Linked DNA regions of Homo sapiens: all the other regions are linked to region 5. The links are contacts of gene promoters, found by promoter capture Hi-C in blood cells and fetal thymus (Javierre and others, 2016). All regions are on one chromosome and are shown on one strand. The core of a region is centred on a gene start or on the middle of the fragment in contact, and the rest is flanking DNA. Distances in the headings are between cores, read along the strand shown.

Region 1 (4,462 bases), core at 721-3,220, 4.7 Mb before region 5:
AGTCAGTCAATAAATGTTTATTAATTGCCTGCTCTTTGTTACACACTGTGTGAGAAAAAGGACAGAGAAGTTTATGCCACAGAAAAGAGATATTAAAGAATACACACAAAAATTAAGTACACGATGGCTGTCAGAAACCATGAAGGGTCTGAGATTTTACTGTACTTTTGACCTAGTAATTTCCCCTGTCAGAGTTTCCTGAATCCTGGTAGAAGGTGTGAGACTTCTGGGTAAAGGAAAAATTACTATTATTTACAGCACAGCAGGCAACATGAGCATCCTGTTCACAGCAGTTCTCCCTACTCAATCACACCCACATCTCATAGGGTTTATGCAAATATGGTCCCAATTAGATGCTACACAAACAGTGGGTTTGCTGTATACCTGAGGAACCTGGAGATTATGAAGTCCAGGACATTTTTATTTATTTATCTTTATTCAAATCATAAACACATTTTTTTAAAAAACAGCTCTATTTAAAATATAATTTATGTTTCAAACAATTGATCTATTTAAAGTGAACAGTTAGTTTTTTTTATATGTTACAGCTTTATGTAATCACCATCACAATCAATTTTAGAACATTTTTATCACCCTCTACATAAACCTTATACCCTTCAGTAAGTACTCCCCATTAACCAACTCTCTTCCCACAACCCTAGGCAACCACCAATCTACTTTTTGTCTCTACAGATTTTACAGTATTTGGCATTTCATGTAAGTAAAAATCATAAAATACACGTCTTTTTATGACTAGCTTGTTTCTCTTAACATAATGTTTTCTAGGTTCATTATGTTGAAGAGGCCACAATTTTATATAAGGGGTATCTGGCAACCTGTCCCACCTTAGCAAGGAGAGGGATATTATCTAAATTACATTGGTAAGAAAAACTGTCTGCCCTCTCTTTCAGTGGAAGAGCCTATTCATCTTCCAAGGCTGTTTGCTTTGCACACATCCTGAAAAGATAGTCTACGATAAAGTTGTTATGAAGATGTATAGAAACTCTGGAGAATTGCTCCTCAATCATCATCCCTAAACAAAATGCTGAGAAAGAAAATGGCAAGCTGCTGTGGAAATACATAAGAAGGAAACAAACCATCTGAGCATCCTTGGAGGCTTCCTCAGGAAGATACTTTTTAAACTGGGACCTCAGAAAAAGATGATTGAATTAAGAAGTAAAAACACAAGAGAAAAAGATAATTTTAGGCAGTAGCCTCAAACGTTTTTATTTCTTTATCTTTACTCAGGTCATAAACAATCTTTAAAAAATAATAGCTTTGTTTATGTAAAGAGCATGCATAAAGGTGAAGAGGCAGAAGATGACAAGATGCATGTGGCTGGAAAATAAAGCAGGAATGACAGAATGTCATGAAGTGAGACTAGTGTGGCAGGGAGATGATAGATTATGCAAGACTTTGTAGGTAATAAGGGCTTCCAAATTCATTCCAAAATAGTGAAACACAATTGAAGGAATTTAAGCAAGAGAGTAAAATTGTCAGTTTTCTTTTGTAAGGAACTTCTCTGCTGTGTGGAGCCTGGTTGGAGGGGGGCAAAAATGGATTCAGGTAATCAGTTTAAAAAGTGTATACAATAAATCAGATGAAACATGTAAGTAATTTGAAAGAGGGATGATCAGAGGAATATCTAGACTAATTGGGGTAGGTGGTGGAAAGGGAAGTGTTGAAGGAGGTGATATCATGAACAACTGAATGAATCATGATACCATCTACTGATCTATAAATATTGGCAAGTCTGAAGAAAGGATAATTAGTTAATCTTTAGGCAAATTACATTTGAAGTTATCTGTAGCTGTGTTAGTCCGGGTTCTCCAGAAAAACAGAATCAAGTGAAGTATATACAAAAATCAAGAGATTTATTATGAGGAATTGGCTTACACAATTATGGAGGCTGCTAAGTCCTAAGATCTATAATCAGCAAGCTGGAGATCCAGGACTGCTGATTGTGTAATTTCAAACCCAGGGCTGGCAGGCTTGAGACTGGGGAAGAATCAGTGTTTCAGTTTGAGTCTCAAGGCAAGAAAAGTCAGGGTCTCAGTTCAGACAGGAGGAATGTTCTCTTATTCAGGGCAGGGTCAGTCTTACTTCATACCGGCCTTCAGCTGACGGGATAAGGCCCATTCCCATAGGGAGGGTAATCTGCTTTACATTGTCTATCAGTGTAAATGTTAAAGTCTCACAGAAACATTTAAAATAAGGTTTGCAGAAATATCCCAGTACCTAACTGCTCAGTCAAATTGACACATGAAATTAACCATCACAGTAGCTAAATGAATGAAACAGTTGGATACACAGTTTTCCATAAGAAAATTTTAAAAGAAAACTGAAAAGAGAAAAAGAGAATTTTAGGCCAGAGAATTTTGGAAGTTTTTTTTGTTTGTTTGTTTTTTGTTTTTCTCAGTCTTGTTCCTCCCTATAATCTAAGTTGTTTTATGTCTTTCCCACTGCAAAATCTTCCTCATCCATACATATACAAAAGTGATCTACTTTGTCCAACTAGTTATGCATTTTGGCTGGGATGGAAAATACGAGAATGGAAATAAAAGAATACATCAAGAAGGTTGTGAAGCATATGGGTAGGATTACTGAAAGAAGTGCAAGGTATGTACAAAATACAAGGGAGAGAGGATAGGGATTGGTACAAATGAAAAGAGATGTGGCTGGGCACAGGGGCCCATGCCTGTCATCCCATCACTTTGGGAGGTCGAGGAGGGCGGATCACAAGGTCAGGAGTTCGAGACCAGTCTGGTCAACATAGTGAAACCCCGTCTCTACTAAAAATACAAAAAAATTAGCAAAGTGTGGTGGTGTGCACCTGTAATCCCAGCTACTCTGGTGGCTGAGGCAGGAAAATTGGGTGAACCCAGGAGGCAGAGGTTGCAGTGAGCCGAGATTGCACCATTGCTCATTGCATTCCAGCCCGGGCGACAGTGCGAGACTCCATCTCAAAAAACAAACAAAAAAAAGATGCATTTTATAAAATTGTGAAGAAAATGATGTAGAAAGAGCTACAATGTACAAAACTTTTTAACAGAAAGATATGTCATATATATGCAAAATGAAAGGGAATTCAGTTTTGTTTGAAACTATATTAAATTGCTTGCATTGTCTTATTATCCCAGGCTGAACATTTTAGTCACAGTGTTTTTTCCTTGAATATTTTATCTACATATCAAAATGTAATTATAGAACTAGATTATATCACATATGAAAAATACTATGTAGAGTAAAAATAGAAGGAAGTCTAAGTCTAAACACAGAAGAATAAAAAAGAAATAAATATTTGACAGAGGAGGAAAAAACAGTGAAATATGAGAACGTGTAGAGAGAAGGAAACAAGAAACTCAGAGGACTGTGGATAGGAGGCAATTCAAAAAAGTGTTTCAAAGTTCCATCATCGAGTCTCAACTTATTAACAAAACTTTTTTTGAACGCTCTCTTCCTTGTCCTTTTGTCTGCTCAATGTTTGTCTTAACTTTTCAGAAATCAGGTTTATTCTTACTTTCTCAGCATACACATTCAAAAGCCTTTGCTACCTTTTTTTCTACAATATCACACTTTTACAGTCACTTTCTATTTAGCCATAATTTAAACTTTTTAAGAAGGTGAATGTTTATTCTAAAAATATTACTATGTTCCTTGGTGTCCACCTAAAGCTCTAAGGTTCCCTGAAAGATTTGGAGGTAATAATATCCTGAAAGACCCATGGAGCTAAGGAGTCAGAGGTGTAGGTCATTAAATTCCAATTCTGCCTTTGACCTATAATATGGCCTCAGACATTACCTAGGTGCCTTGATTTCTTTCTATGAAAAATAAGATAATTGTACCTACCACATAGACTATTGTGTCTTCAAAGAGGCGATATTTAATAGGTAGTGACAGATTTTAAAAGAGAAAATCAAAGAGATAGTATAGTTTGGCATTTATTGAATGCCTTTTTGTTTTATTTGTTTTTTGAAATGGAGCCTTGTTCTGTTGCCAGGCTGAAGTGCAGTGACGGGTCTCAGCTCACTGCAACCTCCGCCTGCTGGATTCAAGTGATTCTCCTGCCTCAGCCTCCTGAGTAGCTGGGACTACAGACGCATGCCACCACACCTGATATTGAATGTCTTTTAAATGTCAAGCATGCTGGAAAATAATTTATGTAAAATTGACTTAGAGTCTGAATCAATTAGGTTACTTAGAGTCGTCTGTATGGATTTCCATGTATGCTTGTTTGGCTTTTACTATTATTTTTAACTGACATAATTATACATATTTATGAGGTGCTTTGTGATATTTGGATACATGTATATGATGTGTAATGATCAAATAAGGTTAACGAACATGTCCATCACCTCAAACATTTATCATTTATTTGTGTTAGGAATGTTCAAATTCACTCTTCAGCTGATGGGATGCAGCCCACTACCAAAGGCAGGGTGATCTGCTTTACTTAGTCTAC
Region 2 (4,324 bases), core at 294-2,793, 4.1 Mb before region 5:
GAATAATACAGTTTTTATAGACAGAATTTTGTATAGACTTTTCTCAGTAATGTAGAATTTGTTGACTGAAGATAAATCTGGTTATGATGTGGAACAAAGAGTATTTTTCTACACTGTCTAAACAGGTTAGACAACACATAAGGTGATATAGGCATTGTCAAAATGGAATATGTATGTAAAGCAATGAAACTATTCTAATCTGTAATACATAAAAAAGTTGAATGTAATTCAAAATGTTTGCAGTTGTATTTAGAATAGTGATACTACATAACTGTGGTATATTGGTGTGTGGACCTACATTTTATACTGTACATATTTTTAATGACAAGCATTTGTTTTTCTGAATTGCTCCCACCTTTTCTACTAGCATTTAATATAATGGAAGGAACACAAGAAATAAAGTAGTCCAGGCCGGGCGCGGTGGCTCACGCCTGTAATCCCAGCACTTTGGAAGGCCGAGGCGGGCGGATCACGAGGTCAGGAGATCGAGACCATCCTGGCTAATACGGTGAAACCCCGTCTCTACTAAAAATACAAAAAATTAGCTGCACGTGGTGGCGGGCGCCTGTAGTCCCAGCTACTCGGGAGGCTGAGGCAGGAGAATGGCGTGAACCCGCGAGGCGGAGCTTGCAGTGAGCCGAGATCGCCCCACTGGGCGACAGAGTGATATTTTGTCAAAGGAAGGGAGGAAGGGAGGAAGGGAGGAAGGGAGGGAGGGAGGGAGGGAGTCCAAATGTCTTGTTTATTTTCTTGCCATTGAATTCCCTGGACCTCAGTTTTATTATCCATAAACATGACATACTAATAAAAGTCATCATGACAATCTTGGCTTCTGTGAGTACCATATATGCATGTGATAGCCCTAAAGTACTCCAATTATAATTCCCATAAAAGGAAGAGACTACTGGCTAAGTGAAGAATTCAAAAATAATTATGTTGCAAATATGTCAACAAATTGTGAAAAAGGAGAGGAAGAGGGAGAAATGTTTAACCTGTTTAGGGATAGAGCAATCTATTTTAAAGTGAATTATCCTAGATTATGTTTAATAACTTATTTTTTCATTTGCCAAAAATTATTCAGTATAAATATGACTTGTCAGAAAGAGAGTTTAGAGCCAAGAGGATCAGAGTGAATTATTGACAGTCAAAAACTGAGTGTGGATATTTACTTGCCTTTAGCTTATTTTTTCATAGACAAACTGAGCTATTTTAAGGTTGTGAGTTGAGATGGACAAATAAATTAGATATGTAATTGAACAAGTAATACATATTGAGAAATGTATTCTACAGGAGAAATGAACTTGCCAGTATAATAAAATAAAAAATGTTTGGTGAAAAAGAAATACTATCACCATCAATTTGACCAGTTTAACATAAATTAAACATAGTTTGGTATGTGGGAACCCTTACTTAAATCCTCACCTGTTTTTCCTATGGGCAATTTTTCATTTTCTTTCTTTTATTGTCTCATTAATTTCCATTATTATTTTAAATATTGCTGTGAATAGTGAAAAATAGATATTAAAAATGTCTCAAATTGAGAGTCAAAAAGGGAAGAGCAACTAGAAACAGAGAATTGAGTCAATCAGCTCTCATTCCATTTATTGCCTCAGTTTTTTTATCTTGTCTTTATTAATTATTTTTTATGGCTAATTGTACCTTCCCATTATCAACCCTTAGCTTCACTACCAAAAAGAGGACTGTGTTTATTTCTTTTATTTCAAATCTTAGGGGAAATTTTGGTTTGTTTGGCTTGGATGATATATTTGCCCTGTGGCTAGTGGTCAGGGTACTGTAGTTGTAGGATACTAGTCCTTAATTAGCAGCAAATGATACAGAGTCAAAGGGAAGACTGACACAGGTTTCATTGTTTACCCAATCTGTCCAACTCATCTGCTTTCTATCAGGAGGAATAATTATCTAGGATCTTTCAGGCCTTCTCCTGGAATGTAAAATGTATTTATTTTAGAAATTATCGTGTATTTCACAGTCCAAATCTCCTTGAACTAGAGGTTTTCTAGAATGTTGAAGATTAGACATCCTTTTGACATAGTTGAGGTTTTTCTGTAATCACACTACAAGAGATTTTTACCTCATGAAATTTTTTGGTAGAAGGCCTGTGCTAAATAGCCTGTTTAGTCATTATCTATAAAACTAAAATCTCTGCATGTAAAGGCTCTCACATCTGAACCACTAGGTAGAATAGATCTATTTAGCTATCCCAAGGCAGAGGCTAGTCCTGTAGACCTTGGCAATGACTTCCAAGAAGTAACTAAAGGCCAGAGTGCTGGCATGGCTCACCTGCCTGGGAAGTTGCCGTTTTCTTCCATGTTGTGTCTCATTTGAGGACAAATTCTTATTGGGCAAGTATGCAGAGTAATTGGAGATGGGAAAGCCTGTCTATAGTTCTTAAATGTTACAATATTTTCATTCTGATTTGTATAACATATTTAATTTTTAACATATACCCTGAATTTCAACTGGGGGTAATTTAGTAAAAAAAAAATTATATATTATATATATAATTATATATATATATTATATATAATTTTTTACTTAGTTCTTAGTAGGAAATATATATCATATATAAATATATATCATCTTTATATATATAATATATATTTATATATAAGTGGAAATCATATATATAAATATATATCATATATATATTTCTTACTAAGTTTAGTGTGTGTGTGTGTATATATATATATATATATATATAATATAAACATAAATGCTTGGCCATCTAGAATAGGTGAATATAGACATGTTTATAAAACTGCATGTCTTTGTTGATATTGTAAACTCTCTTGTTTTTCTTACAGTAAGTTTAAAAAGTGAGAATATTAATGTTCTCATATTTTGAATTCCCTAAATATCCAATGTTGATGGGCATGAGGTCAAAATAACAAGGGATCAAAACATGGTCAAAGTCCCAAAAGATAATACTAATATTGTAATTTTCCAAAACCTGAAGTTTGCTGATTCTTAGTGCCCTTATCTTATGCTGGCCCAAAATTCCACATTTTAGGTTTAGTAATTATTACTAAATAACATTTAGTAATTTACCATGACATTTTCAGTTATTAACTTCTGTTTTAATTATGCTTAGTTTATCTTAAAAGTGGAAATCATAATACAAAATCTATGTGCAAATCCAGTAGAAAAGGGAAAAATTGTAGTCAGGCGTTGTTGAAAACAGGGAACAGGAATTCTACATGCCCCAGAGCCTCACTATCTTTCTGTGAAAGATTTAAAGTTTACCTTCACCTTTGCCACTGGAGAAAAAAGTGCCATTATTTTCTTGGTTTCAATTTGAGGACTATCTAAAATAGGATGCTTCTTTAGTATCCATTTAACTTCTGACATAATTGTGTCCTTGTAGACTCTTGGTGTTGTTATATTTATTTTTATACAAAATTGCTTTTTAGAGTCTCAAAATGTCATGCCTCAGAAATAATGTGTTTATTAATTGCTAATTATTAATTCTAGTATTAGATTTGCACTAAATTACCACTGTAAACAGAAGATGAGGATGTGATATGTTAACATGGAAATTGGGGTAATTCATTAAGAATTTACTACTTAAAAACAAAAGAAACTTGTTGGTTATATGTTTTATGCTTTCATATACATTGCTTTTTAAGTTAAGGTATGTGTCTTTCCTCTCATGATCTCTGAGTTCCCACCGTCCTGATCTCTTTTATTTTAAAAAGTATTTTTATTAGCTAGTTGACGAACACAGAATTTTTAAAGAGTTCACATTCTAATTTATGAATATTCAATAAAATATATTATATTTCCAAATGCTACTAATCGTTTTAGCAAATTACTTTAAGCTTATTTATACATTTTTAACTGAGAGCAATTTAATAAGCTACTGTTCACATAAACATAAGTTAATGTGCATATGTAAAATTATAAAAGTTGCAACATAACTTTGTTATTTTAAAAAAATAGTTATCTATGTATTTTACAACTCATGTATTTTCATCACCTGATAAAGGCTTATATTATAACAACATCTGAAGATATATAAAAAATAGTGCTAAAATAAAGAACAATTTTGGGGTCCCATTTTGAGGCATTCAAGTTAACATCTCTTTGGAAACCATCAATTATAAGTCATGTAAAGATAGTCATGAATTACCTTGAGTTTCCCTATCTGCAGGATTAGCTATTTTTGGCCTCCCCTCAAAATAATTATTTAATTTAAAACTCCAGAGATTGCCAACTTCTGTTACTCTTTAAATAGGTTACTTATGTGCCAAGGTACTAATCTCCTTAGCTTTCCCATCTCTGCAGGCCCTGGGCTGGTTCCTTG
Region 3 (4,547 bases), core at 700-3,199, 4.1 Mb before region 5:
AGCATATTCTCATTCTTCTTGGAGGTGGGGAGGGCAGCTGCCTCATGTGACAGAAAGGGCGGTGTGATCCGAGCCAGTCCCAGGGCCACAGGCCGAGGCAGGGCAAGGGCATTGCCAGCCAGGTGTCTCCAGCTGGCAAAAGTAACAGAGAAATATCCTGCATCAACATAACCTTCTTCCCATTGTCTTACCTCTGTGTTTGTCTGTGTCTGTGTCTAAATCACCCCCCTTTTATTAGGGCGCTTGTCTTATTTGATTGGGACCCATTCTAACAACCTCAAGTTGATTAATTGCAAAGATCTTATTTTAAAATAAATTATGTTCACAGTTTCTAGGTGTTAAGAATTCTACATATTTTGGGGGAGATATAATTCAAATTATAAAACCATTGTCATTGTGCTTCTACAACAAAATACCTGAGACTGGGTAATTTATAAGGAGTAGAAATTTATTTTCTCACAGTTCTGTACATTGGGAAGACCAAGATCAAGGCACCAGGCTGTTCAGTGTCTGGTAAAAGCCTGTTCCTTATAGACGACAATGTCTAGATGTCCTCACATGGTGGAAATGATAAAAGTACAAAAAGGAGAAAGATGTTATGTCCTCTCATGGTGAAAGAGTGAGCAGAAGGGACAAAGAAAGAGAGAGACAGCTCCCAGGAATTTCCATTATAAATGCTAATCCCATTCATGAAGTCTCTGTACTCATGACTTAATCACCTTCTAAAGGTTCCCACCTGTTTCACATTGATGATTAAGTTTAAACGTATGAGTTTTGGAGAACATATTCAGATCACAGAAACCATCTTTAAACAAAGTACTCAGGAAATATTACGTATATATCTAATGGAAGAGTCTACTAAAAATGCAGATTTGATCAAGTTGGTTAATGGTTAATGCCAGATTTTTAAGTAAGAGTAGGACTGAAGAAATTCTGTTAAACCTAGCAGCAAATAACGTTGGTAATGTTAGCAAAAGTTGTTTTAAGAAACATAGTAGATCTAGTAGAACAAATTTTAGTGAGATGATTATGAATTATTAAAATATGGATATTTTATCAGGAATCTTAATTTTGAAAGGAAGATAATATTGTTTTTGCTTAAGATGGGAAAGTCATGTGCAAATTTAAACTGTTACAGGAAAACAAAACAAGTAAAGATGGAATGTATATGTATATGCTATATTTAAAGGGGGAAAAACAACTTACTGAGGATGGTGAGGTGGCATTAAGAAATTTGAATGAAACAGAATTGGATTGATTGGTCTTTCATAGAGTCTTTAAAGAACATGAGAATAATGTTGGCTCATTCCAGTGTTTTGAAGCTATGGTGAACTTCAGTAAAATATCTAATAATTTTTTAGAAATAAATGGTGAAATCAACTTTGAATATAATTTGATTTTGGTAAGAACATGATTGACGAAAATTTTGAAGGTTTGAATTATCACTATGCAGAATGAATGAGATAGCTGAGTAAAAATATAAACATCCAGCAGTAGGTGCCCATTTATTTACAAAGATTGCAGTTGTACACAGTAACCCAAGTACGGAAAGGGAAAGTCACAAAATTAGAATGATGGAGCTTTGGGCTGAAGTGTAGTTATGTAGCTGGTAAGCTTAATGTAGGATGGAAACTCTGTGGTGACAGGTATAAATAAGAAGTGAAAATAGAAGGAAAAAACACGTACTCTCTAATTTAATAATATTAGCCCATTTTACCCTCCGAACATTTCAAAAATTACCTTGAACATATATATGATTTTAATATTTTTTATATAAAAAATGTAGATCTATCCATGTGAACTTTTGATTTTGTCTTAAAGTACCCAAATAATTGAATCAATTATTGACTTACAGATTTAGGTCCGCAAAAATTTATTTAATTTTGAGTTAAATAAAGAAAATAAACAAATTGAGGTTCAGGACTTGTACCTATATTAAACATATTGATAAATATAGAAAATGTGTCTTTCTTTATAAAATGTTAACATATCAGGAAAATATCCAAAAAATTATTGAATAACTCTGTTTCAATCAGTATTTACAGTCACATGGCCACATACAGATATGTATCATTTTTCTAGGACTCTCAGAGTATGTAAAATATACATCATAGTCATAATAGCAAATGGGTCCCGTGGGCAAAAACCAAAAATGTTAATGGGCTCTTGATGTAGAATATTGTTGATGAGTCACTGTGTCTCCATTTAAGCTGAGAGGGTTTCTTTGTTGTTGTTCATTTCTTTTTAATGAAAATGTCAGCAAGCTAGAAGTTCTTAGCTCACAAAAGCTTTTCGCTGAAGGTGAAACTACAAATATCCCAGTTAAATTTGTAATTATGTTTAAGTGTCCAGAGACAAGAACACATGTAGAATAAGGGGCAAACTCATCATTATTGCTTGTGACCTACCCTCACAATAAATACTTGTAGAATTAATTGTGAAATCAAGATATCATTCTCACACCAGGTTGTTCACAGGTCAAGGAAAAAATACAGAGCAGTTGGCTGTAAATGATGAAAAAAATAAAAATTAAATAAATGGAAATGTAAGAAAGAGATAGCTAAATAGGTTTCATTAACTTCAAATAGCAGGAAAGCTGAAGGTGGCTGGGTGTGGTGGCTTATGCCTGCAGTCCCATCACTTTGGGAGGCTGAGGCAGGAGGATCACTTGAGGCCAGGAGTTCGAGAACAGCCTGGCCAACACTGCGAAAACCTGTTTCTACTAAAAATACAAAAATAAGCTGGGCGTGATGGTGGGCACCTGTAATCCCTGATACTCAGGGGGCTGAGGCAGGAGAATCGCTTGAACCCAGGAGGCAGAGGTTGCAGTGAGACAAGATTGTACCACTGCACTCCAGCCTGGGCTGCAGAGCAAGACTCTGTCTCAAAAACATAAATTAATTAATTAAAATAAAAAAGAAAAGAAAAGAAAGAAAGAAAAGCTAAAGCTAATGTTTTTTGGTATGGTGTTTTTCAGAACCAGACACAAAATTTAAAACACATGACCTTTCCACAAGGTAGTATTTCAGTAAGGTGTGCAGAACTCAAAGGAAAATAAAATTTATCTTTTAAAAATACTCAGTTCATGAAATATAAATCCTCCTAGGTTAAATCAATTCATTTTAAAGTATATTCTATAAAACTGTTGGAAATATACAGTTAAGGCAGAGTTACTTCTCTTTGTAGCAGTTATGACTCCTAGTTTAGTAAATTACAAGAAATATAACATAACCCAGATGAAATAAAAAGAGTTATTACAACCTACTTTGAAGCTGTAGAAGTATGGCTGGCTATAATCACAAATGGGACTAGGGTCTGAGTCAATGTTTCTTTGGTTCTCTTGATGAATGGTAACAAAAGGCTGAGGAGTTCTGGGTCTCATTTCTGTAGGCCACTCTACCCTAAACAGATAGAGGCTACTCTTTACAACACAAATCTTATTCTTTGTTCTGATTGAATCATTCTGGGCCTGTCACTATGGTAATGGCTGCTGCAATCACTCCAGTTTTCCTAAACAAGAATAGTTCTCACTCCTAGAGGTAGGGGTAAATTTCATTTCACTTTGGCTCTATTGTGTCCCAAAATAGTAACAAGAGGCAAATTGTTGTGGGGCTATGAGACCAGAGATGAGAAATATTGTGAAGTTTTTATTGACTATTCAAAGAAGTGGGGAGTTGGCAGTGGTGTATCCAGAAGTGTGGAGAGGGGAAGATCTACCTGAGGAGCAGGTTTAAAAAAAGTACATTGACTAGAATTTTGAAACAAAACAAAACAAAAAATAAAGTCAAGTAAAAGTTGCTCTACTCCTTATTATAACCATGTGCTCACAATTCTAAACAATGTCTCTGATAAATTACCCACCCCTAAAACTTCTTCTTTGGTTTATCTAAATTTTATTTTAATATATGTATAATTTCTTTGCAATAAAATGCATATATTCAGGTGTACCGCATGATTAATTTCGACATATACTTTGACATATACACCTACATAATCACTAACTCTCTCATCAACCTATGGACTATTTCCATCAACTCTGAGAGTACTCTTGGACTTCTTTTCTGCTAATTCCCTACCAAACTCCCAGAAACAAATACAGATAGGAGTCAGTTAGCACAGAGAAGTGTTGCCTGTTATTCAAATTCATGTTAATGGGATCACACAGTGTGTCTTCTTTTGTGTCTGGTTTCTTGTGCTGCATATAATAATGTTCAGTATTAGTATTTATTCTCTTGATTGCTGAGTAATACCCCACTGCATGAATACAGCATAATATGTTCACCCGTCTTCTCTTCATGGAAATTTGCTTTCAACCCCAGTTTTTTTTTCTATTATGAATAAAGCTGTTATGAGCCTTTTTGTAGATATTCTTTCAGTTTTTTTGAGCAAGAAAAAATAGATAGTATAATTGCTTGGCCATAAGGTAGGTTTATTTTCAATGTATAAAAAAATTGTCCAGAGTTTTTCAAAGTAATTTTATAGTCAACTTCCTTGAACATTATATGAGAGTTCCAGTTGATCCACATCTTTGTTGGTACTTGTTATTC
Region 4 (4,563 bases), core at 1,112-3,611, 4.7 Mb before region 5:
TCTATGGACACGTTATTTTTAAACCTCACCCTTAATGATTACAAACCTTAATTTTCTCATAGAAGTATTTAATCTTTGCTTATCTCATCATTATTCAGCTTTAAGTTAGGTTTTAGTTGATTATGACATGAAAGAAAAATGGAATTTGCTTTCATCCATCCATTCAGTCCTTACTACTTTTGAGCTGAAGTAACTGTTCACATCTGTTGCACATTTTTAATGTGTGCTTGCTTATTATTTATTTGTAAGAGTTCTTTTTACATAAACTGGTATCAATCATTTATTAGGCATATATTTTTCTAACATTTTTCTCCTAGCCTGTAGATTATTTATATTTTCTTAATGTCTTCTGAATAACCAAAGTTTTAATTTTGATGAGGTCTCATTTATAAATTGTAAAAAGTGTTTGCATTTGTTGTTCTGTAAGAAATTTTCTCCTGGCTGAAGGTGGTTGGAATGATAGCCTTCTATTTTTTTCTTCTAGAAGTTTCATAAATGTAGATTTTACATTTAAATTTGTGACTTATTTATTTTTTAATATGTTGTGAGAAATGTGTGAAGGTTTGGGGTGTTTTGCATGAGAAAATCCAATTATTTTAGGCAAAATTTGTTGAAATGTCCATTATTTTCCACTAAATTGGCTTATTGATTTTGTCAACATTCAAATAGCCTTATATGTATGAGTCTATTTTTAGAGTTTCAATGATCTATATATCTTTCCTTTTGACCATGCAATGCTGTTGAATGATGCTAATAGCAAATTTTGAAATCTGGTACTATAGTCATGGCAGTTTTCATTTTTAATATTAATTTTGCTTTGACTTTCCTATAAGCTTGTCAATTAAATTACTTCAGTTTGATATGCCTTCATTGTATTATATATTTTAATTTCTCTGCCAGTTCTACTTAGCTAGAGTTTGTGTTTTCTGATACAGTGAGATAATTTGAATATTAATGATCATTAAAAATATTTTCAAAAATTAGTTTTAATTTCAAACAAAGATAAAGAACTATGTGACAAGATTTATTTTAGGTTGTATGTGTATTATATTAAATATTTTTAAAAAGTTATCCAGGCAGAGATAGCCTCATAAAGACAATAATGAAATATTTTCATGTTTCTTGAAATTCTTCTCAATCTAATGATTTTTAAAGTATGTTTGCATGATCTTCAAATGATATTTGTTTATATCGTCTTTACTAAAGACAGAACTCTATAACAAATGCTCTAGAACATGTTGAAAACACATAGTTCTTTGCATATAAGGCTTTGAATAAAAGCTTTTGTCTTTAAACAATTATATTATTTTAATCATTACCTTATTTCTTAATTATCATGGCTTACCAAAAAAGTCATCGTGATCACATAATCTATAAATATATTACTGGTTAACCATCTCTACTCTAAAAATCTGAAATCTGAAATACTTCAAAATCCAAAACGTTTTGAACATTCACAAGACACCACAAGTAGAAAATTCCGTACCTGACATCATGTTATGAGTTGTGGTTTAAACACAGTTAAAATTTGGTTTCATGCACAAAATTATCAATAATAATGCAAAGATTTCCCTTCAAGTATGTCAATAAGGTATATATGGACATAAATAAATTTTGTGTTTAGACTTGGGTCCTATCCCCAAGAGAGCTGATTATATATATGCAAATATTTTTTAAAAATCAGGAATCTAGGTCTGGGTCCAGTGGCTTGTGCCTGTAAGCTCAGAGCTTTGGGAGGCTCAGGCAGGAGGATCACTTGAAGTTGAGGGTTCAAGACCAGCATGGGCAATGTATTGAGACTGTCTCTAAAAAATAAATATAAACAATAAAAAAATCCAGAATCCAAAACACTTCTGGTCACAGCATTTTGAACAAGAGATATTCAACGTGTTTGTATCTATATGTATATCTGTTTGTATGTGCGCGTGCGTGTGTGTATGACATAAAGAATGACCTTAACTTGAGTATCACCAATGTCTATGCTTGTAGTCTTTCTTCCCTTTAAAGCACATGATGAAAAAATATAATTGTGTGCATATAATTATAATGCCATAGCTTCAATGGGAACTAAGAACATAAGATGAAAATTAGATTTAAGATCTGGAAGAAATAAAAATTAATAGTTTTAGTTTATTATGAGTGTCAATATTTGAAATTGTAATTAAGTATTTTCCCAACTATTCTTCAGTTGATTAAGATTTTATACAAGTGAAACAGAACATAAGGCATAAACATGACTTGAAGTTAGTTGTTTGAAATTAACTCCAAAGGGAATATAGATTTAAGAACAAAACTTTACATTTGGCAAGATCAGAAGAGAGAGGATCAGTAGGAGTTGTATGTCAGATTGGTCACTTGAGATTTGAGTATACCATTAGCAAAACTGCTGAAAGCTCACCTTGCTGAAAAAATAAATTATTTTCAGAACTACCAGCCTTGTTAAAAGCAACATTTGGAACTGACTAATCCCTGGGGTAGGAGTGCTGCTTTATAGTTTAGAAGATGCTTTTCCATCAAAGAATAATTATACCAATTTGCTCAACTTCTCCTTTAATAAGAAAAGAAGGAAATAAAATAAATAAGAAAAAAATTTAAAAATCTTGAAGAAAGATCGAATTAAGTGCTTGAATTTGAAATCAAGTGCCATTTTATCTGTGATACATGACTGCTATTTTGCATAAATTGTGACACTTAAACATTTGTTCTTGTATTAAAAATACTTTGAATTTCATGATACTTCTCCTCACAATTGTACTAACACAATCATCAGTTCTAAACATGACAGAATATTGCTCATGTGGCCAAAAGAAAATGTATATTAATTGTAACGATTTTCAACATTTCTGTATCTTTTTTGGTCCAAATTTATTTTTAGAACTTTAAGTCCCATGTGCAACATTATGGGTATTACTACTTCCTATCTTAACTGAAAGTTCCCATTCAGTTGCCTGAGCTTCTCATGTCTCACCAGGATCAAATATACCTAAGGAGGAACCTCTCAATTCAGATGCCACATCTTATATGTGGGGAGATGAGTACAACCAGGCGATGATATTAATATTTGTTATGAATATTACTGATTATAAAAATACTCACTAATTGATTTTATTTTTTGTTGTTTTAGACAATGTACAAGCACCTTCTCTGTTAAAAGAGTATTAGATTAAAAGTGAAACCTACAGCCCAGGCCCATAAGGCCCATTTCATTCTTCTCTATGAGTTTAATAATTTTCCATTCCTTCAAGATGGAGTAAAGTACAACAGACTCATATTTCCTCCTATGGTTATACACTGCAGCATTTTCACTTAACATTTTGCCACATCATTTGTAATAAAATTTTATTTTTGTTCAACAGTAAAAATGTCACCATGTTTTTTTTTTTTCTTAAATATAAAGAGTCATGTTTTAAGTGAGATATGCTGGTAACTAATTCCTCACTAAAAGCTTTGTCATAATTTGATCTTTTCATTTCTTAGATATTCCTCATTGTCTAGGTTACTTCTGAATACATGCACACACACTTGTGTGTGTGTATGCACAAGTGAATGAATGTATATATGTACATATATATCTCAAGATAATTTCTACTTCATAGTCATCCTTCCCAATTGGATATAATAGGATAAGTTAGTTAAGGTCATTTACCAATCATTTATAAGATTAGAAATAATTTCAAACTTAGAAATCCCATCTGGCATAACACCATTTGATCAGACATAAACCAACTACTTCCCTTATTCCATTCCATACATCCCGGTCAACCGTGAACCATCAATAACTTCTTTTTGAGTACCACATTTTGATGACTTTTACATCAAGCCAACAATAGCATGACCTAAACCATATTTTGCTGGCTTGTAGATGAGTATGCCATGTGGGACAGAGTTAAAAGACTTCCTGGGGTCAAGCTCGATTACACTTACTGTAGATTGAAAGAATCAAGGCCATTATTCTGTCATAGTAGAAAATACATTTGGTTTGACAATGATTTGTTTTCAAGTCATGCTATTTATAACTGAGCACTTTGTGATCTTCAGAGGGTTTGAAAATTGGCCCTTGAATGATAACCTACAGAACCTTTCCCCATTAACGTTACAGTAGCTAGTCTATAGTATACAACACTATTTTTTTCCTTTGAAAGGTAGTTTATTTTTGTTGTTAAAACTTGTGAAGATGGTAGTCAAAATGTGAATTTACATTGGTGACTAAGTGTACAAGTATGTTTTTTATAATAAAATGAGTACATATCAATTTCTAATATGGTAAGATAAATAAATATTTTTACTTATATTAGTTCTTACATTTTAATAAAGTAAAATAAAGTCATTTTTTCTACTTTTAAAATTGTCCACAAAACTATTAATTAAACAGTTTGTGTGATATAATTTGTCAGCTTTCAAGGTGATGCAAGTATTAAATCATATACTTCTGTAAACTATGAGCTGATTATTTTATAATCGCCAGCAGAACACGAGATCCTAATTTTTAAATCTGTCCTTGCAGTTTGAAGGTTACCTACAAACTTGATTAGAACTGTCAGGCCTCATGGCATCTATTATATA
Region 5 (3,990 bases), core at 1,338-3,837:
TGTGGAGTGCCTCCATCCTCTACTTTGATTTTCATCACATAGGTATCTTTCTGTTCTCTATCCAAGTTTTGCTGAACAATCAGTTGTGGCCACTTCTCTCCCTCTGGAGTTTCCACGATATCCAGTCCAAAAACACTCTGCCCATTTAACAATTCATAATGCTGTACACCATTGAAGCCTGTGTCAGGATCTGTTGCTGATGGAATTGGAAAGCGGCTGTTGATCAAAGTGTTTTCTGGAATGGAAATATTGATGACAGGAGATGGAAACATGGGGGCATTATCATTGGTATCCTTGACAATTATTTTTATTTTGATCAGCCTGAAGAAATCATTGGGGAGGATCACCACCTCAAGTTCAAAGAAACACTCATTCTCCTCAGCATATGAGGCGCCAGCACAGAGTTTTTCTCTGTCTATTCTGTTGGAGGTTGTGAAAATTTCCCCAGTGCTGCTGGAAACTTTCACCAAAGGGGCATCCCCAGCTTTAGAAACCAGTCTGTAGACAAGGCTGGCGCTGGTCCCTGTGGCAGCATTGATGTGAGAAATGTTCAGATCCTTTGGTATGTTTCCTATGGGCACATTTTCAGGCAATTCCTCTCTAATAGTGTAAATAAGTTCTTGAGCTATTGCGGAATCCAGCCTTAAACAGGCAATCAGAGCAGCCAACAGGTAAAAATCCCTCAGGTCCATGATAATGTATTTATTTTCTTTTCCTGGATTTTAGGGTTTAAAGGTTTCCACTGAGGAATGATGCACAAATTGCAAGAGGAAGCGTGCATGGACTGGAGGATGCATTATATCTCATCACTTATTTGGAGACAGCCGCTGTCAACACAATTGTATAGACAATATTATTCTTCAGTAAATAAAAACACACCGTCACAAAATATCACCACACATTTTCCCCTGAACATTAGTAAACATGGCAGTTTGCTCTGCCACTGTTTGCAAGTTTACTCTGTGGAGAAAAACACTAAATATCTCCTGCTGGTTGCATTTGCCGGGAGAAAATAAAATTTTCTACTTTTGAATTAAGGACAGCTGCTATTTTTACCTATATTCACGCACGTTGTTTTTCAGAATACTGTTTAATTCAAAACATGCATTCTTGTTCTCCTCTTCCCCTCCCCCTGTCTCACCCTCCTCCTAGCCTCTAACCTACCTCCCTCAGTCTTTTCAGGTGCAAGTGAAAAACACTAAGTATTTAGCTACGGTTCCTGCTAATTGCTTTGTCACATGTCAAATGTGTTTTCTTCTCTGCCCCACTGAGTCACCTATCTTTTCTAAAAAGGCTATCTTTTTCTTTCCTCCCAGTTCTTCAACTGCCTTCTAATACAATCTTACTGGGAAACGAGCATCCGGACATGCCGCTGCAGCGGCATCAGAAGCAATAGTCACCGGCCTCTACACATCCTCATTGCCTAAAAGCACAACAACAAGACTTCAGATTTCTTGCCCACAGCTTGCTCTCCTTTCTCCATATTGACAAATTATCCTCATTAGGATTCATAAACACATTAAAACTTTTAAAAATGTATAATAATATAGGATTCATTTTCCTAGAGGTGGAAGAGAGTGCCGAGATATAAGTGAAACGCAGCTAACATTCCCATGTAACATCACAATATTTTCTACTGAACATAAAAGAGAAAAAAAATGCAATTTCTTAATCCTGATCTCTGGTTAGAATATTAGTAACATTTGCCACACATAAATACTGCAACCCAATCATGCAGGTAAAAAGGCTTCTGCTTAGATAACTGCAGTTTAAATGGGTGCAAGGCTCCAGGCAGCTACCTACTTGAGTAGGACTGGTCAGTTCTCAGGCTCTAATCTTATCTGCATTAGGCTGCACAGTAGCTGATGCCCGCGATTAGTTCCGGCAGAGTGATGCAGGTAGGGATGCAGATACAGCCGAGTAGGTGAGCTCTGCCCCAACCGTCTACCCAATTACAAGCATCTTTCGCCTACACTGAGGACACATCTAAACACAGAATTTACAATTGTGCATGCGAAACTTTACACTTACGTTAGTTGCCTCAACCTTTCCCCTTTCCCAGTATGCTGCAGTTAGGAATGATTTGTTCCAACACATAGAAAGCCATGCATCTGGTAGCACCAGTTTGGGGAGAAATCAGAAGCAGCAAAATGTTTCCTCCTTGTAAAATGTGTTGCTTCGGGCTGGCAAATTAGCAACTCCAGAGAACAAATTCACGGATTTGTCGTTAGTCATTCTCTCCACATTTCGTCTCTCTTACCCACTGGGTCTGGGTTCTTCTGGGCATTTAGCACACACAACACATAGTTGCACTTCTTCAGCTCAGGGATATTTTCCACAGCAGCATGCATACCATTTCCATCCGATGCCAATACTGCTTAAGTCTCTAACTTCTTGTAGGAAACGTCAGAGTTGCGGTGATGATGATTCTCTGACAGCTATCCGGGTGACAGTTGCCCGAAAAATTCCTAATCGGTTATCTCTTGCGTGCTTCAGAGACTCTGAGGCGCTCCTTTCCGTCTCGCGTGCTCTCCCTCTCTCCCTTCCCCTCTGCCCCTCTCTCCTTCTCCCTCTCCTCTCTCTGAACTGAATTTCTTGATATAACTCTCAATAAGCCCAGAGGGAGGGCGTGACTGCCCAGGCCCCGCCCCCGGGCTCTGATTGGCCTGCATCTTGCGGCGCGGGCGGCCGCAGCCCGGCGCGAGGGAGGGAGCGCGGAACAAGGCGCTGACTGTCTCCCAGCCTCCCCTCCTCCGCGCCCCCTCGGCAGCAGCGAAAACCCGGAAATCTGATCCTGGCCCCAGGAGAGCCGGGTTCCATGAGGTGCACTGAGCATGCTCTGCAGGGTCCGGCGTGGGAGGGACGCGCTGGCGCTCCCCAGGCCCGGGCGGAAGCGGCGCTCGCAGGCGCTGAAAGCGAGCGACCCTCTGAGCCCGGGTGGTCCGGCGGGCAAGGGCGGCGCGGGAGACCCGCAGGGCGCGGGCGCGGATCCGGGGAACCAGGGCCACCGCTGCGGGCGGATGGGGGTCACCGAGGCGGCTCGTCTCCAGGCGCACACTTCGCACATCTCTTTGCTAAGTGAAGGGGCCAAAATGCACAGATGGGGGAGTCTACCCAGGAACAGAGGCGCGAGACGTATAGCCACCCCTGGGTTGGGAGCACGAGCCAGCAGATCCCCGGAGCGCGTTAAACGGACAACATGCCCGGTGCTGCAAATAGAGGCTTTTGCTGGCAGGGACATTGGAAAGAAGGGCGGAGAGGGAGTACAGCGAAAGGTGGGGACCGCAGAATTTGGAATCTCTGCGGAGACCGGAAAGAAAATTAATCGGAGCACTTCCTACATGCAGAGCCACGGAAACTGCCTTGGAAAGAGAAAGTGGCAGCGTCTGGGTCCCCTCGGTCAGCCCGGGCCAGTCGGCTGCGCGTGCGAAGTCTCCTCTAGCGGAGCGGGACCGGCCGCGGCGGTGGATCGTGGCGGTCCCTGCACTTCTGCTCCAGCCGCGCCTGGAAACCTGAGCCCGGACTCGCGGCTGCTGCAAAACCCGCTTCCAGCCCACCTCACTGCGAACTTTGCTTCCGAGGGGCTGGAAGGAGTCCCAGGCAGCTGTTTCCCAAGCTGTGGAACACTTCCTTTCCCCTAGGCACTTTCTGCTGATTCCAACTTTCTTTCCTGTGATTTTCGTCTTTTCCCGTGCATTTCATTTCTCCGACTCCAGCTCTGTACTAAATCCTCACAAGTTTCTCGTTTTCATACGGGAACTGGATGGAATGACTCCCCAAAAAATACAGCTTTATTTCTCAAATACTGACCCCCAAAGCACTATCTAGTAATATATTTGATTGATCTTTCAAAGTCAGTAAACCACAAAGGTTTGTGTAATGGCTTGTACTTAACGCCTGATACCTGAGTAAAGTTTGAAGCATTAACATAGGAACAGTTCACTTGGAACAAAAATTTATTTTCTGAATGACCTATAAAGGTTGTCAGAG
Region 6 (4,047 bases), core at 69-2,568, 4.9 Mb before region 5:
GCCTTGGTCAGTGGGGAATGAGACTGGAAGAACCAACACAAATGCTGATAACCTGGCCACCACTGTTATGTGAGTAATAAACTGTCCATTTTCTCTGACACAGGAATCTCACATCTTTTTCCAGAATTGATGAAACTGTTGAAGAATAACTTGTTAGATTGCAAGTAGGGTAAAATCTTAGGCCCTCCACAGTTCTTGACAATGGAAAGGAGTATTATATAGTCTTGATAGTAATCCCTGTGTGTTTGTTTTTTGCAAAACTATTTGCCAATATTGAAAAATGTGGAGATTATGTGTAAATATTTAGATCTAAGTTCTTCTTTAAAAATCATAATTTCAACCTAACCTGGACCTTCTTTCCATCACTTGAGTTGGGTAGAGACTCTAATCTTTATATGAAATGTGCATTCTCAATTCACCAGAGACATGTCACCATCTTGTTACCTTAATACTGAGATCCACTGTCATTTGACATTTATCATTGAGCTTGCCCTGCTGTTTTTGGTATTGCCAAGTTGAAGGAGAAAACAAAAGATAGACCCAAAGGACCAGTGTGTATCACAAAAATTAGGACAGAGCATATTTCTTTCTGATAGTAAAACATATTCCTATGTGTTTTATATGCAATCACAGAGTGTCCCTGTGGGAATAATACAATTAAGATTCCATTAATATGCAAATGAAGTGTATATGGTTGAAAAAAATACAACTAAAGACACTGACATTGTTCTATTTAACTCATGTACCTAACTTGACTGGCTCTAATAAGCATTCGAGTTACAGACTTTGCTGCAGCCCAAATGGCCTGCTCAGAGTTCCTAAAACAAGCCAAGGACAGTCCTACTTAGTGCCCTTTCATGCTTGTCCATCTGCCAGGGGTGCATTTTCTGTGGATCTTCACAAGGCCTGCTTCATTTTATCCTCCAAATCTCAGTTTAAATATCATCTCAGAGAGGTTGTCTCCAAACATCTTTTCTAATTAGATTTGCCTTAGTTATTTTCTACTATGGCACATTTTCATGATCTTAATATAAATTTTCTAAATTTCTAGTTTCATATTGATTTATTTATGTATTTAATCTCTATTTTATGACTAGACTATAAGCTTCTTGAGGAAAGAGACCCTAGGTTTTTATATCTAGTGTATAGCAAAGCATATGACTATAGTGAATTTAATATTAGAGGAGTAAACAAAAAAAATTCCTAAAATATATTCTGATAGGGTAGTTTGACATGCTGACTCTGTATGTGGTGTACTTCGCCCTGAGAAATTTTATTGACAAGGTACCATTTTGGGTAGTCCTGACCTCTTAAGAATTTTGCTCTTTTGTGAAGTTTGCCCTAACATAAAGTGAAAAGAACTCCCTAGAGTAAAAATACGATGCAGAGTTGGAAAGAGATACACACAATCCACTCTCATGAGTTGGGGAAAATTTGCTGGGGCACACTACTTTTTATAATGTCTCCCAAATATATCATCACACATATCAAGTTAGCAAATGAATAGGATGACTCATGCTATTTGGTTTTATAAGCTTGTGCCTCCATTTTTATTATTTATTTAGTAAATAATTTGATCTTCCATAACTCACTTTGGAAAGCTCCCTTGCTTTATTTTCTTTTAAAGCTTATTTATTTATTTATGTATTTATTTATTGAGACTGAGTCTTGCCCTATTGCCCAGGCTGGAGTGCAGTGGAGCAATCTCGGCCCATTGCAACCTCTGCCTCCTGGGTTCAAGCAATTCTCCCTCCTCAGCCTCCCGAGTAGCTGGGATTACAGGCACATGCCACCATGCCCAGCTAATTTTTGTATTTTTTTAGTAGAGATGGGGTTTCACCATGTTGGCCAGGCTGGTCTCAAACTCCTGAGCTTGTGATCCGCCCGCCTCGGACTCCCAAAGTGCTGGGATTACAGGCGTGAGCCACCACGCCCGGCCTTTTAAAGCTTATTTAACATTAACATGGCTCTATTAAATTTTAGATGCGCATATTCTTAGTAAATTTCTTTATCATATTATTATTCTTTCTAAAAGACACATGAATCATGTTTTAAAGAGATGAAGGGGTGGATGTATCATCAAACAATGTAATACATTCACTAACACCTTTTAATGAATGTATACATTATGATATATATTACACAATTTTTTCACTGTATTTTTCACATTAGTTTCACACATTAGAAATGCGATTAAGCTATTATAAGAAAAATCTAGAATTTGATTATACATATACATATATTCGTACATTTATATAATATGAATTTTATAAAAACGCAGGCATGTAATGTAGAAAAACATGGGCAAGATTACTGCACACATTTTTGAATTTCTTCATTCTTTTTTTGAAAATGGCTCTTTCCCCCATCCAATGTGGTTTTAGATGTGAGTTCCATGAAACAATATTATTATAATAAAAACTAGTTAATTTTTTGCTTTTTTGCAGTTGCTCTGTTTTTTATAATTATCTATTTTCTTTAATGAAAATTTATTTTTACCTTTATTTTTTACTAGAGAAAATGATAAAAGAAAGATGAAATAACTAGACCAATTTTATGTAACATGAAAGGAACTGGGATTTGAAAATATATAGTTTGACTTTAGAAACTTTAGATATTATGTTTTCCTGTTTTATTCTCACAGCATTATTCTACTATGTCAGGGATTCTGGAAACAGTTACTGAGATAAACATTTGTGTGCAAAAGTTTAATGGAGAATGTTCTGATAAGCAATGCCTTGTGTGAGGAAATGGAAAAAGTAATATGGGACAGAGGGAGAAGTGAAGCTGCAAAGCTGTTTCAAACAGTTGTTCTCAGCAGCAGTTGATATCCCAGGGAGCTCTTCAGATACAATGAAGGCAAGAGGGACACCTGTTGTACTTCTTTAGATAAACCAACCCTTGGTAGGAAGCTGCCCAACAAAGGGCCCATGACACTGAACACGGCAGCTTCTTGGACCAAGAACAATTCCTGTGAGGGATTCAATTGTGATCCAACAGCAAGTTATATTCCTGACAGCTGAGGAATTAGTGCTTTAGTTCTAAAATACGAAGATCTAGACGGTGCACCCAGAACATCCGCTACAGTTCATCCCTTGCACCATTTGATTTTTAACATAATTTTATTTCATCAGAAAATAGCTTTAGGATTTTTGTTGTAACTTTTGTCTATGCAAACTTTTACGACAGAAAAGCTAATGGGAAAAACTCTAACTCCTGCTACTGCAGCAGCTGGTCTCAGTGCCATTGATCCTCATCATCTCAGTCCTTGGCCATCCATGTTTTATTGCCCTTACCCTTACTTATCACCTTTGCTGGTTTACGTGGCTGATCTTGTAGGTGACAAAGATGTCCATCCCTGTGACACCTGAACCTCTGATCATAATGGCCTGCTTTTATTGTGATTGCTGCATTTGTTTCCAAATTTGGGCAAGAAAGTGCTAAGACATGTCCCAGTGATTTCTTGAGTGCTGGATGCATTTTTCCTTGCTGACATTACATAACAACAACCCCATTTTGATTGCTCCTTCCAGATGGTGAATCATTTCTTGTCTGTTGGTCTCTTAATACAAAGAGCACAAAGTAACTGCATGGCAGCTACAGCTTGCAGTTTAATGAGGGCAATTTGCTTCTGGGATCCATGAGATTAAAATCCACAAAGCCTAAAGTTGCAGTGACAGAAAGCCACTGAGTATTTTAGTTCAAAGGACGGATGTTCGAGACAGACTGGAACACTCACTATAAATAATCTGGCTAAGACTGGTCTTTCCAGAGGTGGGACTACATCCCATGCTGGCCCCACCAGTTTCTTCTTCAGGAAGTTAGGATTTGCTTAGCTCCTTTTTGGGAGGAATTATGAAACTGAACACTATCAGAAGCTGTTTCCCACCATGTGGAACTGAGAGGAACAGACCAGTTTGCAAAAATAGAAAAACATAAATAAATAAACAGATGCACCAAGAAGCCCAGAAGAAAGTAAAAAAAAAAAAAAAAAATTGAATCCGGCTGGGCGCGGTGGCTCACGCTTGTAATCCCAGCACTTTGGGA

What was found. Contacts are between HindIII fragments. The CHiCAGO score rates a contact against its expected background, and 5 or more counts as called.
Region 1: a contact is called between a fragment that was not itself captured here and the fragment with the promoter of PCDH9 in region 5, in 1 of 17 cell types (M2 macrophages). The highest score is 6.2, in M2 macrophages.
Region 2: a fragment that was not itself captured here is called in contact with the fragment with the promoter of PCDH9 in region 5 in 1 of 17 cell types (M2 macrophages); the score reaches 7.7 in M2 macrophages.
Region 3: a contact is called between a fragment that was not itself captured here and the fragment with the promoter of PCDH9 in region 5, in 3 of 17 cell types (M2 macrophages, M0 macrophages and M1 macrophages). The highest score is 30.4, in M2 macrophages.
Region 4: a fragment that was not itself captured here is called in contact with the fragment with the promoter of PCDH9 in region 5 in 1 of 17 cell types (M2 macrophages); the score reaches 7.8 in M2 macrophages.
Region 6: a contact is called between a fragment that was not itself captured here and the fragment with the promoter of PCDH9 in region 5, in 1 of 17 cell types (activated CD4 T cells). The highest score is 5.4, in activated CD4 T cells.

The regions. Positions count from the first base shown.
Region 1 is chr13:62,519,028-62,523,489 of GRCh38, forward strand. No RefSeq gene overlaps it. Among named protein-coding and RNA genes, the nearest start is that of LINC00459, 200 kb to the left of the region's middle. The HindIII fragment of the contact is 6,918 bases long and covers 1-4,462 here.
Region 2 is chr13:63,108,698-63,113,021 of GRCh38, forward strand. No RefSeq gene overlaps it. Among named protein-coding and RNA genes, the nearest start is that of LINC00376, 220 kb to the right of the region's middle. The HindIII fragment of the contact is 4,587 bases long and covers 1-3,837 here.
Region 3 is chr13:63,126,761-63,131,307 of GRCh38, forward strand. No RefSeq gene overlaps it. Among named protein-coding and RNA genes, the nearest start is that of LINC00376, 200 kb to the right of the region's middle. The HindIII fragment of the contact is 674 bases long and covers 1,613-2,286 here.
Region 4 is chr13:62,498,877-62,503,439 of GRCh38, forward strand. No RefSeq gene overlaps it. Among named protein-coding and RNA genes, the nearest start is that of LINC00459, 180 kb to the left of the region's middle. The HindIII fragment of the contact is 2,164 bases long and covers 1,280-3,443 here.
Region 5 is chr13:67,227,749-67,231,738 of GRCh38, forward strand. PCDH9 (protocadherin 9) reads right to left here and starts at 2,588. Exons shown (of 5, transcript NM_203487.3): 1 at 2,032-2,588; 2 at 1-827. The coding sequence starts at 692. RefSeq lists a silencer at 2,859-2,998. The HindIII fragment of the contact is 4,939 bases long and covers 1-3,990 here.
Region 6 is chr13:62,307,239-62,311,285 of GRCh38, forward strand. No RefSeq gene overlaps it. Among named protein-coding and RNA genes, the nearest start is that of LINC01074, 12 kb to the right of the region's middle. The HindIII fragment of the contact is 430 bases long and covers 1,104-1,533 here.